Regions from separate parts of the Homo sapiens genome. Here region 1 is linked to region 2. Evidence: promoter capture Hi-C in human tissues and cell types (Jung and others, 2019). All regions are on one chromosome and are shown on one strand. The core of a region is centred on a gene start or on the middle of the fragment in contact, and the rest is flanking DNA. Distances in the headings are between cores, read along the strand shown. Region 1 has its middle 29 kb from the start of LINC01427. Region 2 holds the start of FOXA2 (forkhead box A2).

Region 1 (5,936 bases), core at 1,043-3,542, 270 kb after region 2:
GGATCATCTTGGATCAAACCAAGGAGCTGTGAATGTCCATGAGACAGTTGGCCTATTAACTTACACCAGCTCTGTCCAGGACTAATATCTACAAAACAAAATAGAGGTGCTGTTATTTATATGTGAGCTCTATTGTCATCATCAATAAAATGTAGCTTATAGTACTTCCTCCACATCATATGCAAAGTCATTGTACAAATCTGATGAGATAATGTTGAGAGAAATATGGTGAAACTGAGAATTATAGTTGGCATACATGATACAAATCCCTAATTACTGGTTGCATTTTTATATCTGACTTTACTTCCTGAAACATACAGATAGTTTCTCTCTCCCAGCTACTGGAACCTTCATCAGTAGAGGGTACCCTGTCTCCCTCTTTCCCTGCTTTCTACCATACAGGGGTTTAACACATTCTTAACCTTTAGACTATTGTCTACTTTGATCCTCAGAGCATCCTAGGAAGGGAGGCTAAAGACAGCAGGTGGGAGAATATCCATTTCCTCTTATAGATACGGGAGATATAGAAGCTGATCTTCCATATCTATAAGATAGATCTCATCTACCAAGATCTAACTCTAAGACAGATCTTACCAAGAATCCCAGCCCCTAGCCAGACAGCCCTAGACAAGGACAGGGAGCAGAAAACATGATACTTGGGACTTCCCACCTGTACCTATTTTCTTTTTGTGCCACCTACAAGCAAAGTGACCTCAATGCTCTGTATCCATATGTTGATTCAACTCTTGCAGATTTTCTTAAGGCATATATTTCCAATGACCAAAGACATTTTCTTACATGCCATCATATTATTATGAAAATAAGAAAATTTAGCATGGATAGAATGCTATTGTTTAGTCCCAAGTCCATTTTCAAATATCATCACTTGTCCAAACAATGTCCTTTTTCCTATTTACCCCAGTCCAGGATCCAATCATACTTGGGTTAATGTCTCTTTAGGCTTTTTTGTTTTGGAACATTTCCTCAGGATCTCTTTGTGTTTCTTCACCTTGATGTCTTTGAAGAGCAGAGGCCAGTTATTTTCTAGGTTGTTACTCCCTGGATTTCTCCAGTGTCTTTCATTTTTGGCACGAAACCCACAGAAGTGATGTTGGGCCCTTCTCAGTGCATCTTTCTAGGATCCTCATGATGTCTGTTGATGGTGTTAACTTTGAGCTCAATTAATTTTTGATTCACATTGAATGAAATGACCTTGGGCAACTCCCACATTTGGAAGGCTGATTCTAGATTACCTGAGGGCTTATTTTACTTTGGGGGTTGGGAATGATGTTGGATAACGTCCTTTGGCCTCTAATATGTACTTTTAAAATATTTGCCTGTAACTGAAAAATGAAAATGAAAATTATCAGCAAACTAGATCAACTTAGTATTTCCTAACAAATTAGTCTAATAAAGGATTCAGATTGAAGGTCATGGATAAAATAGTTTTTGTTTTATATAAAGTGAGTGAATATTTAGTTTAAGCAGCAACTGTTAATCTATGAGACTCTGCCCTGACTCAAGTTAGAATACAGTACATTTGCTAAAGGGAATTTCCATGGTTGTTTTTTTTTTTGCCTTTTTCTAGTAAACTGAAATGTGTGGAAAGACCATCAGGTGGCGCACTGGTTCCAGTCGTTTTATCAGCAAATTTCCCACTGGGAAGGAAATTTGCTTGCTACTGGAAAACGCTGATTGCTCAAAAAGCCAACTCAATGAGCTTTTTGGAATCTAAAAAGAAAAATCGGTTTGAGGAAAACTTTCATACATATATTTTGAGCGGAGGTTGGATTTGTTTTCATGAGAATGTTTCCCTTTTCCTCATTTTCTGGCTCCAAGTTTAGGAAAACATTTAGGCGCATGAGTAAAAAAAGAGGAAAAAGAAAATCAGAACTAACTACTATCCTTTACACCTTTAAGTCTTAAAAATCCTTAACTCTTTTAGAGATGTTTTGCCTCTACCATTTCCTGGAGGAAAAGAAATATTCAAAGAAAAAAAAATCCTGACTCTTACTTCATGGGTGGCAACATGTGTCTGTGGTGTGTGTGTGTGTGTGTGTGTGTGTATGTGGGGGGGGGGGGATATGAGTGTGTGCGCTAGAGAATATATGGGGAGGAAGGGAAGAACAACAAACAGTTTTATAAAATCCCTTCCCATTCTCACTGAAGTTTTATGTAATTTTAAAACTTTTAACCTCTAATAGTTTCAGTTGTAGGTATGTGACATGATTTGGCTGTGTCCCCACCCAAAGCTCACCTTGAATTGTAATAATCCCCATGTTTCAAGGATGGGGCCAGGTGGAAATAATTGAGTCATAGGGGCGGTTTCCCCCATACTGTTCTCATGGTAATGAATACGTCTCACGAGATCCGACAGTTTTATAAAAGGGAGTTCTCCTGCACTATGTAAGGCGTGACTTTGCTCCTCATTCACCTTCCACTATGATTGTGAGGCCTCCCCAGCCATGTGGAACTGTGAGTCAATGAAATCTCATTCCTTTATAAATTACCCAGTCTTGGGTATGTCTTTATTAGCAGCATGAGAACAGGCTAATACAGCGTGGGAGGATCTCTAACCAAATTTTAACACATTGAAGAGGCAGACAGCTTCTTTCTCACATCTGATATGGACTGCAGGAAACTCTTTCACCTGCTGCAACCTTGTTTTTTTCCCTCTGTTTTTTGGCTTTTTGTAGACTGACATTTTAAAAATCAAGTATAAATCTATTCATGTGATTTCACTCTACTACTGAAGAGATTGACTTTTAAACTCCATTTAATGCTTGGCCAAAGTTTTAAAGTACTAGAAAATTCCAAAAGTTCATCTCCAGATTTCTCCAAATCAAGGAATAGACCAAACTGAATGGTTGCTGCATGTTGCTTGTACCCCTAATTTTTGTTAATGGTGTCATTCGAGTCTCCTAAATGAATAAATGGGTCACAAAAATTTCTGCAGTGTGTGTGTCACTGCACCTCTGGAATGGCATAGGGAAGAGACTGGAAGCAATGAAGTAGCCACCGAGTAACCCCTCTGCCAAGAACACGTGGCCAGGCAGTTCCACACAGATCCATGGATCAGTCAGCTCCACTTAATTTGCCTGTTCAGTCATTAAAGGGCAATATCTGGGGCTGTGTCTCTTTTGGAATTCTGCCCTGGCTGATAGCTTACACTTACCAGGGACACTGGGTGGCTCCCTAATTAGGAGGAAAAAAAAGACCTCAGAAATCCTTTTAAAATTTTTTGTCAATCCTCACATAATTATAATTTGTGGTTCTACTTCTTTAAATACAATAATTTTAATTTTTTAATTTTACAAATAGCAACAAAATCCTCTTACATTTGACAAATTATAGTACGCATATGTGCAAACCAAAGTATTGATTCAAACTCCAGGCACAAATGGACTTGCAGATCCCGGCAATAACTCTTTGCTTTTTCAGGAATATTGAGGACAGGGGAAAAATGGTTTTCACTTGAGCTAAGTGAAGTTCACATGTATTATTTCAAGATATGCAAGCCACAAAACTTACTGTTTGTGATGGGGTATAGACCTGCGCAAGCCTTTCTGTCGGCTTCCAAATTCCCTGTTCCACTGACACTGTGGTTCTAAAATCTGGGGACACATAAGAATGATCCAAGGAACCTGCTGAAAAAGCAAGCCTGGTAGAGTTGATTCAGGTCCAGGAAACTGCATTTTAACAAGCATTCGAAGAGATGTAGAGCACGCTTTAATAAGAGCGCTTTGCATGCAACAGCCAATTTTCATGATTGATCATACTTCATGTGCATGTCACTTTCAAGTTTACGGTGTTTTCAAGTAGACCGCAGGTTTTAACTGTGCCTGCTTTGTGCCTTAATGTTTCCAGCAACTCCTGAGAAGACCTGCCCTCAAATCCTCAAGCACTATTGAATAAGAGCAACTGCCTTCGTGAGTCTCACATGGAATTCACCTTCTGTATCCACTGGCTCCGCAGGGTAGACTGTAGGACTTGAGCATCCTCAGACTTTAGTATCCATGGGGGTCCTGGAACCAGCCGCCTATGATGGATACCAAAAGACCCTTGTATAACCTGAAAAATAGCAACAGTCAGCCACCCTGAGGTCCAGTTCTGGCAAAGAATAGCAACCAAAGAAACACAATCCAAAGAGAAGACATTTTAAATCTTTACTTCATTTTCTCAAACAATGCCCTAAGGGTGTTTTATATATAAATATATAGATTATTTAAAACCTATTTTTAATTCTGCTCACAATTGGCAGCAGTTGCACCAGAGCCCGTTTTCTTGTCTGAATAATAAAAAAGTTTCTCTCTTGAATACAGAGTAGATTCTTATCTGTTTTTCTCTGCTTCATTTACTTTCTTGATATATCCTTTCATTTTTAACTAGCAATTTTACTTTTCCTATTAAAATACTTAGTTCCATTGGTCAGCTGTGGTGGCTCACACCTGTAATCCCAGCACTTTGGGAGGCCAAGGCGGAAGGACCACTTGAGTTAGAGACCACCCAGAAGTTAGAGACCAGCCTGGACAACATAGCAAAATCCCGTCTCTACAAACAACACAAAAATTAGCTGGATATGGTGGCATGCACCTGTAGTCCCAGGTACTTGGAAGGCTTAGGAAAGAGGATCACTTGAGCCCTGGAGGTCAAGGCTGCAGTGAGCTGTGATCATGCCACTGCACTCCAGTCTGGGTGACAGAGCAAGACCCTGTCTCAAAAAACAAACAAACAAAACAAAAGAAAATTTAGTCCCATAGACTTCTGCAATTTCCTCTCCTCTATTGTACTCTTAACTTATTCATTACCTTGATTCTTTTACACAACAAATTCCAAGAGACACTGGGAGGATACAGACTCCATAGCAGATGAGGGAGGGGATGGAGGCATGAGTAACCGTAGAGGAACCCACCATTCACAAATGTACACACTGAGCTTCCACAGAGGGGGCCTTTGGACAAAAGCCTCAATAACTTAAACTGAAGCTCACATTTGAAGACACCGACATATATTATATAATTTAATTTTTATCAAACTTTCAAAAATTGAGTATTATTAACCCAATGTTCCAAATGAAGACACTACATTTTATAAAGATTAAATAAATTCTACTGCCAGAAAATAAAAATCCAACATTCTCTCCACCACAGACACAATATCATTCAAACATTAAAAACTTTACGGTATTATATAATTTATTGAAAAAATATTTTTTATATGATGTATCTTGTGAAAATATTTTCAACAAAATACATAATAAATGTTGAATTGAGTTTGATTTAATGTAATATTATTGTATATTAATGGTTTATTAAACAAATAGCGTCTACTTAACAAGTGAACATTATTGCTAGAATGTACTGTTATCTCACATTCCTTGACATTGGCTCCCTTTTGAATGCTGGCTTTGTCTTAATATATTTCTCCATTTCTGCCCAAAGGTCACACTGACACTATGGAGGCTCCAGGTTTATACAAGCAAGGCTTAAGCTTGCTGGCCAATCACCCATAGGTATTTGGCCCACTGTTCCCTTTTTCTTCAATGCCTGGGAAAAAAAAAAAAATACCTCCACTAGAATCTTCATTTTACAGATTGGGAAGAAATGCTGATGCTATCTAGGAAACTACAGTCAATGCAGTTCCATTCAAAATTATCACAGAACTTAAAAAGCATGAAGATTTACTTAAAAAATATCTATACACACACTTGTAGGAAAAATGACCAAATCAGAAAATAAGACAAATTGTCTAAAGCTAAAGTAACTAAGATAATGTTGTATTAATGTAGGGATAGACTCCCCCTAAAAAATCCCAGAACTGAATAGCGGTTCTAGAAACATATCTATGATTATATAAGCAACCCTGACTTGAGGCAGAGCTTGTACTGCAGATTAGTGGAGAGAAAGCACTTCAACCAATGATGTAAAGGTGATTGG
Region 2 (6,260 bases), core at 2,332-4,831:
ATTTTTCAGTACATTTCAGAAATAATAACCCACCCAAAGAAAGTGAAATGTTGATTATAATCTTTGACACACGATATGCCTTTTCTTCATTGAGACTTGAGATTCATCCAGAGAATGAATAAGGGGTGTTTGGACATCTGCTTTTTTACCAATTAAAAAGTTTATAAGAAAGTAAAAATGCATACTTTCCCAAGACTGTGCTGTCACTTTTCCATCCCCTCTGCCTTCATCTTGCCTACATATCTGCCTTATGTTGCCCTAAACACGCTGGGGAACTTTGAGCAAGGCCTTGCCTGGGTATTTATTCTCTGAAAGGTTTTAGGAATTGGAGTATTAATGGGACTTTTATTGTTTTTCTCCTTAGGTATTTCATGGGTTCTCACTTAGGAAAATTGAGTTCTGTTCAATGATGCCCCTTCTGCACTGGTTGGTTTCATGTGACAAAGAGAGCTCTAGGGAGGACTTTTGCTAGGGGAACGCAGATTGTTCCAGCAAGATGAAGGCCTAGGAGACCTGGATGGCCTGGGTGTTTTCTTCCCAGGGAGAGCAGAGGAGGCCTGGATTTGAACTCGAGTCTTATGACTTTGCCATTGAGGCAACATCCAAAATAAAAATAGCATGCTAACCCCAAGCACAGTCCTCAGTTATAAAGCAGCTTTATTATAGAAGCCGGCGGTGACCTAACAAAATGGAAAGGGAAGGGCTCTGTAGGTCTCGGCCCTACATGAGGGTAGACTAAAGAGGGATTGGGAGAAACATCTGCAGCCCGAGGTCCCCGCGAACTTTTTCCTGGAGAGAAACTCCGGGAGCAATCTTCAGCATTCAAGCCTGAGCCAGAACTCTGGATAGCCCTTTAGAAATCAGAACTCCGGGAAGGAGGAGCTCCAAAGACCGCTGAGCTGGAAGGGAACGCGAACCCCAGGCTGTCTGAACGTCCCTGCTTCCTTCGCAGCCCGTTGGTGTCCCGCTCCCAGCTACCTAAAGCTAACCGTAGACCCCGCTCGCATTCCCATGGGCAGGCGTGCCGGGAGGGTGCGGGAGCGGCTGCTCCGAGACTCTAGGAGGCGTCATCCAGCCCTACCCTACCGGAGCTCCCAGAACCTCGCCAGGGTGCAGGAGGCCGTTTTGGGTTCGCGCAGAACCTAGGGGTTGGGGCTCCAAAAAGGCCGAGTCCCCCCGAAGGCGTTTTCGGAGAGACTGGGAGAGCGGGGGAGAAGGTGCTCCGGTGCCGGAGCTGCGGGGTTGGGATCGCGGGGGTAAATGAGGACTCGGGTCGGTCCCGCGGGCCTGGCGGCCGACAGGGGGCGCCCTGTCACTGTGGAAGCCCCCGCCGAGCGCTCTCTGGTGTCCCTGACCCCGGCCACCAATAGTGCTGTGGTGGAGGTGGGGGCTTCCAAAGTCCGCTCCTTGGAAGTGTAGCGCCCCCTTCTCCTGCGGCCCTCCAGCTCGCTCCTTCTGTTCCTGGAATAATTTCTGGGACCAAATTTCCACCCAGGAGCAAAATAGAAAGGGAAGTGGGCACCCACATAAGCTCACAAATACTCTCATACAGCACACGCACAGACTAGGTCAACCATAACATTCTTTTGAGTTTTGGGGGTGCGGTGTGTGTGTGTGTGCGTGTGTGTCTGCCCAGGCCTGCGGAGAAAGCTTTGAAAAATTGCTCATTCTTTGAGCTCCAATGCTTACTCCTCTTTCCCTGCCCTCGGTGGAGTGATGAAGTTGCTCCCATCCACGCGCTAGGTGGGACCCCGTGGGAAATGCTGGGGATCTAGCCCCTCTGACTCCGCTGCGCACACCTCCACGTTCACTACGTAGCCGTACACACCATCAAGCTCCTTCCCTGGCGCACCGGGCTGGCCTGCCCCTCGTGGGAGCCTTCAGCACTCGGGGGACCGATAGGCACGGCTTCCGCGGAGATACAGACCTTGAATTTGTGGGAGAATCCCGCCCTGGCGCTCACTCGGCGGGCTTATTAATGCCCTCTTTATGAAGTGTCCAAACCATCTGCATTTCAGCAGCAAAAGATGCTGCCGGCGGCTTCCTTCTGTGTCCCAAACCGTGCAGACCTGAGAGTCCTGGGGTTAGGGAAGTGGTTCCCCTGTGCCTACTGCTACCTCCTCGCTTGCCTTCCAGCCTCACCCTTACTCAAGCTTCAATGCGAAGCTCCGTGTCTGCCATCTCGCCTGTCTTCTGCCACCATCGCCCCCAATTTTGGACAGGTGGGCTGGATGCCCACTAGTTCCTATGCATTCTCTGTGTCTGAGGGGGTGGGTACAGGGCTGGATCCCCAAGGTCCAGCCAGGTTTTCAGAACCAAGAAAGAGCCTCCACATCCAAACACCTGCAATATCCCCCCACTCCAAATCTGGGCTCACAGGCTAACCCAGAACAGAAGACAATTTTTGAACCCAAGAGCTGCTGGGGAAATAAAAGTATACGATTGCTGGAGTTTCTAATTTCTATTAAGCAGTCCCTCTGGAAGACAGAGAGGACAGAGACGCTCTTGAAGTCAACTCCATATGCCCCATCATTGATTCCTGGATTCTTCTCTCCTCACCCCTCCCTCCCCACCTCCTGCCCTGTTTGTTTTAGTTACGAAATGCTGTGGGCACCTCGGTTGTGACTGAAAAGTAACCTTGAAACACGCCGGCCTGAATATCAGAGACAAATCTCAGCCTCCCAACCGTCGGCCGCTGCTAGAGGGGCTGCTTGCGCCAGGCGCCGGCCGCCCCACTGCGGGTCCCTGGCGGCCGGTGTCTGAGGAGTCGGAGAGCCGAGGCGGCCAGACCGTGCGCCCCGCGCTTCTCCCGAGGCCGTTCCGGGTCTGAACTGTAACAGGGAGGGGCCTCGCAGGAGCAGCAGCGGGCGAGTTAAAGGTGTGTACGTAGTTTTTCTAAATAGGACAGCGCTTTGCAAATTGGCTGTCATGGACTTGCTGTTTTGACAGAGAATGAGCACTGAGAGCGAAGAAACCCGGCATAAATAAATCCGGCTTTCATAGGGATCTGCCGGGCACTGAGGCTGGACGCGCCCTCCGACAGGCGCACCGGGCGCCCGGCGCGATGAGACGGGGCGGGGGCTGGAGGCCGGAGCCGCCCCAGAGGGTGGTTTCCTCCCAGGTCCCTCCTTCCTCAGGGGACTCGCTGTGGACCCGGGAGGAAAGGGGGCTCGACCAGGGATCCCGCGTGCCCGATCGCCCGCCCAGCCCGCTCCCCTGGCCCGCCCAGGAGTGCGGGGCGCCGCGGCGGTGGGGCGGACGGCAGGCGCTGAGGGGCAGGTGCGGAGCGCCGGCTGCGGCTACCTCTCACCTAGGTGTGAGCTGATTATTCAAATGGGCTGCCCCGGGTCTGGGGATTGGAGGCCCGCGCCAGCGCGCCGCGCTATATCACCAGCCTCCCACGTCACTGCGGCACTTGTCCGCTCCGCGGTCCACACCTCCTCCTCCTCCTCCTCCTCCTCCTCCTCCTCCTCCTCCTCCACCACCACCACCGCCTCCTCCTCCTCCTTCCTCCTCCTCCTCCCCACCCCCCCACTAGCCCCCGCGCCGCGCGCTTCCCGCCGCCTCGGGGCAGCTCGGCACTGCCAACCTCAGCCGCCACCCGGCAGCCCGTGAGCGCGGCGGCGGCGGGTGCTCCCTACCGCGGGGCGCTGGCCTGGGCCTCCTCCGCTCCTCGCCCCCCCCCACCTCCCGCCCACTTCCAACTACCGCCTCCGGCCTGCCCAGGGAGAGAGAGGGAGTGGAGCCCAGGGAGAGGGAGCGCGAGAGAGGGAGGGAGGAGGGGACGGTGCTTTGGCTGACTTTTTTTTAAAAGAGGGTGGGGGTGGGGGGTGATTGCTGGTCGTTTGTTGTGGCTGTTAAATTTTAAACTGCCATGCACTCGGCTTCCAGTATGCTGGGAGCGGTGAAGATGGAAGGGCACGAGCCGTCCGACTGGAGCAGCTACTATGCAGAGCCCGAGGTAAGCGCTCGTCTTTTCCAGGGGGAAGTGGAGCGGCGGCGCTCGCTCCTTCCCCAACCTCAGGACCGCTTCCCTCGCTGGCACCCCCCCACCCCGCCCCACAACCCCAGCCTTTCTGGGCAGCCGCCTTTTCCGCCCTCCTTGGAATCAAATGGGTCTCTTTTTTATACGACACACTGTTAGCCTTGAGATAATATTAACTTTGTGATCAAATATTGACTTGCGGCGCCTCCAAATCCTCTTCGTGGCCGAGCCACGCACTATCCTAACAGAGTTATGTTTGGCAGCGCGCGGCTGGGGAGGGGTGGGAGGTCGGCCGGCGAGGGGGTGGGGAGCTGAGGAGGAGAAGATGGGTAGGAGTTGGGGGCTGAAGTGGAGGCAGAGTCAAAGACTAGTGGACAAAGAGAAAGAAAGTTTTTGCCTGCAAAGCTCAGCCGCGTGTGGTTCAGGTCTCGGTTCTTTCCCTATTGCCCCGTTCAGTGCCTCCAGCCGCCCCCGCACTCCGCACAGGCACTGCCTTGCAGTTTCCCTGGGACAAGGGAGGGGGTCCCTGGAGGGAGACCGGACAGAGGGGGCCCGGGACAGTCTTCGCTGGAGGCAGCCCGAGGCGCCCCGCGCGTTGTCCCGCAGGTTGCTTGCTGCGACCGGAGGTGGCGTCCGGGGACTTCGGGCCTCGGCGCCAGCTCAGTATGCTGGTGGGAGAGTTTGGGGAGACTCTGGGGTAGGGGAATGTATTTGGGGTGCTGGCTTGGGAGTACTCCATGGGACCCCTGTTCTAGAATCTGGGCGAGGTGGAGAAGGGCTAGGAACGGGCCACATGCCCAAGCAGCAATCCGCTCGCCACCTTCCCAAGGGCGATCGATCATGACTCTCCCTGAATGAAACAGACTCGGAGTCCGGAGACTGGGCCATCGGGGACGAAAGGGCTCCCCGGAGGCCTCCCCGGACGCGGAGGCCTGGGCGGTGGGTGGGAGGTCTGGGCACCCTCCAGCCGCGGTGCTAACGCTGTCGCCTCCCTCCCGGGGCTCTGTCCGCAGGGCTACTCCTCCGTGAGCAACATGAACGCCGGCCTGGGGATGAACGGCATGAACACGTACATGAGCATGTCGGCGGCCGCCATGGGCAGCGGCTCGGGCAACATGAGCGCGGGCTCCATGAACATGTCGTCGTACGTGGGCGCTGGCATGAGCCCGTCCCTGGCGGGGATGTCCCCCGGCGCGGGCGCCATGGCGGGCATGGGCGGCTCGGCCGGGGCGGCCGGCGTGGCGGGCATGGGGCCGCACTTGAGTCCCAGCCTGAGCCCGCTCGGGGGGCAGGCGGCCGGGGCCATGGGCGGCCTGGCCCCCTACGCCAACATGAACTCCATGAGCCCCATGTACGGGCAGGCGGGCCTGAGCCGCGCCCGCGACCCCAAGACCTACAGGCGCAGCTACACGCACGCAAAGCCGCCCTACTCGTACATCTCGCTCATCACCATGGCCATCCAGCAGAGCCCCAACAAGATGCTGACGCTGAGCGAGATCTACCAGTGGATCATGGACCTCTTCCCCTTCTACCGGCAGAACCAGCAGCGCTGGCAGAACTCCATCCGCCACTCGCTCTCCTTCAACGACTGTTTCCTGAAGGTGCCCCGCTCGCCCGACAAGCCCGGCAAGGGCTCCTTCTGGACCCTGCACCCTGACTCGGGCAACATGTTCGAGAACGGCTGCTACCTGCGCCGCCAGAAGCGCTTCAAGTGCGAGAAGCAGCTGGCGCTGAAGGAGGCCGCAGGCGCCGCCGGCAGCGGCAAGAAGGCGGCCGCCGGAGCCCAGGCCTCACAGGCTCAACTCGGGGAGGCCGCCGGGCCGGCCTCCGAGACTCCGGCGGGCACCGAGTCGCCTCACTCGAGCGCCTCCCCGTGCCAGGAGCACAAGCGAGGGGGCCTGGGAGAGCTGAAGGGGACGCCGGCTGCGGCGCTGAGCCCCCCAGAGCCGGCGCCCTCTCCCGGGCAGCAGCAGCAGGCCGCGGCCCACCTGCTGGGCCCGCCCCACCACCCGGGCCTGCCGCCTGAGGCCCACCTGAAGCCGGAACACCACTACGCCTTCAACCACCCGTTCTCCATCAACAACCTCATGTCCTCGGAGCAGCAGCACCACCACAGCCACCACCACCACCAACCCCACAAAATGGACCTCAAGGCCTACGAACAGGTGATGCACTACCCCGGCTACGGTTCCCCCATGCCTGGCAGCTTGGCCATGGGCCCGGTCACGAACAAAACGGGCCTGGACGCCTCGCCCCTGGCCGCAGATACCTCCTA

What was found. Contacts are between HindIII fragments. The study calls those that stand out against the background at their distance.
Region 1: a contact is called between a fragment that was not itself captured here and the fragment with the promoter of FOXA2 in region 2, in 1 of the 25 tissues and cell types used here (thymus).

What each region holds. Positions count from the first base shown.
Region 1 is chr20:22,308,629-22,314,564 of GRCh38, reverse strand. No RefSeq gene overlaps it. Among named protein-coding and RNA genes, the nearest start is that of LINC01427, 29 kb to the right of the region's middle. The HindIII fragment of the contact is 7,948 bases long and covers 1-5,936 here.
Region 2 is chr20:22,581,893-22,588,152 of GRCh38, reverse strand. FOXA2 (forkhead box A2) reads left to right here and starts at 3,581. Exons shown (of 2, transcript NM_021784.5): 1 at 3,581-3,961; 2 at 4,999-6,260. The coding sequence starts at 3,875. It overlaps LNCNEF (lncRNA neighboring enhancer of FOXA2), which reads left to right. Exons shown (of 3, transcript NR_109883.1): 3 at 365-631. RefSeq lists enhancers at 530-1,284, 1,285-2,040, 2,796-3,551, 4,976-5,548, 5,549-6,120. The HindIII fragment of the contact is 10,630 bases long and covers 1,903-6,260 here.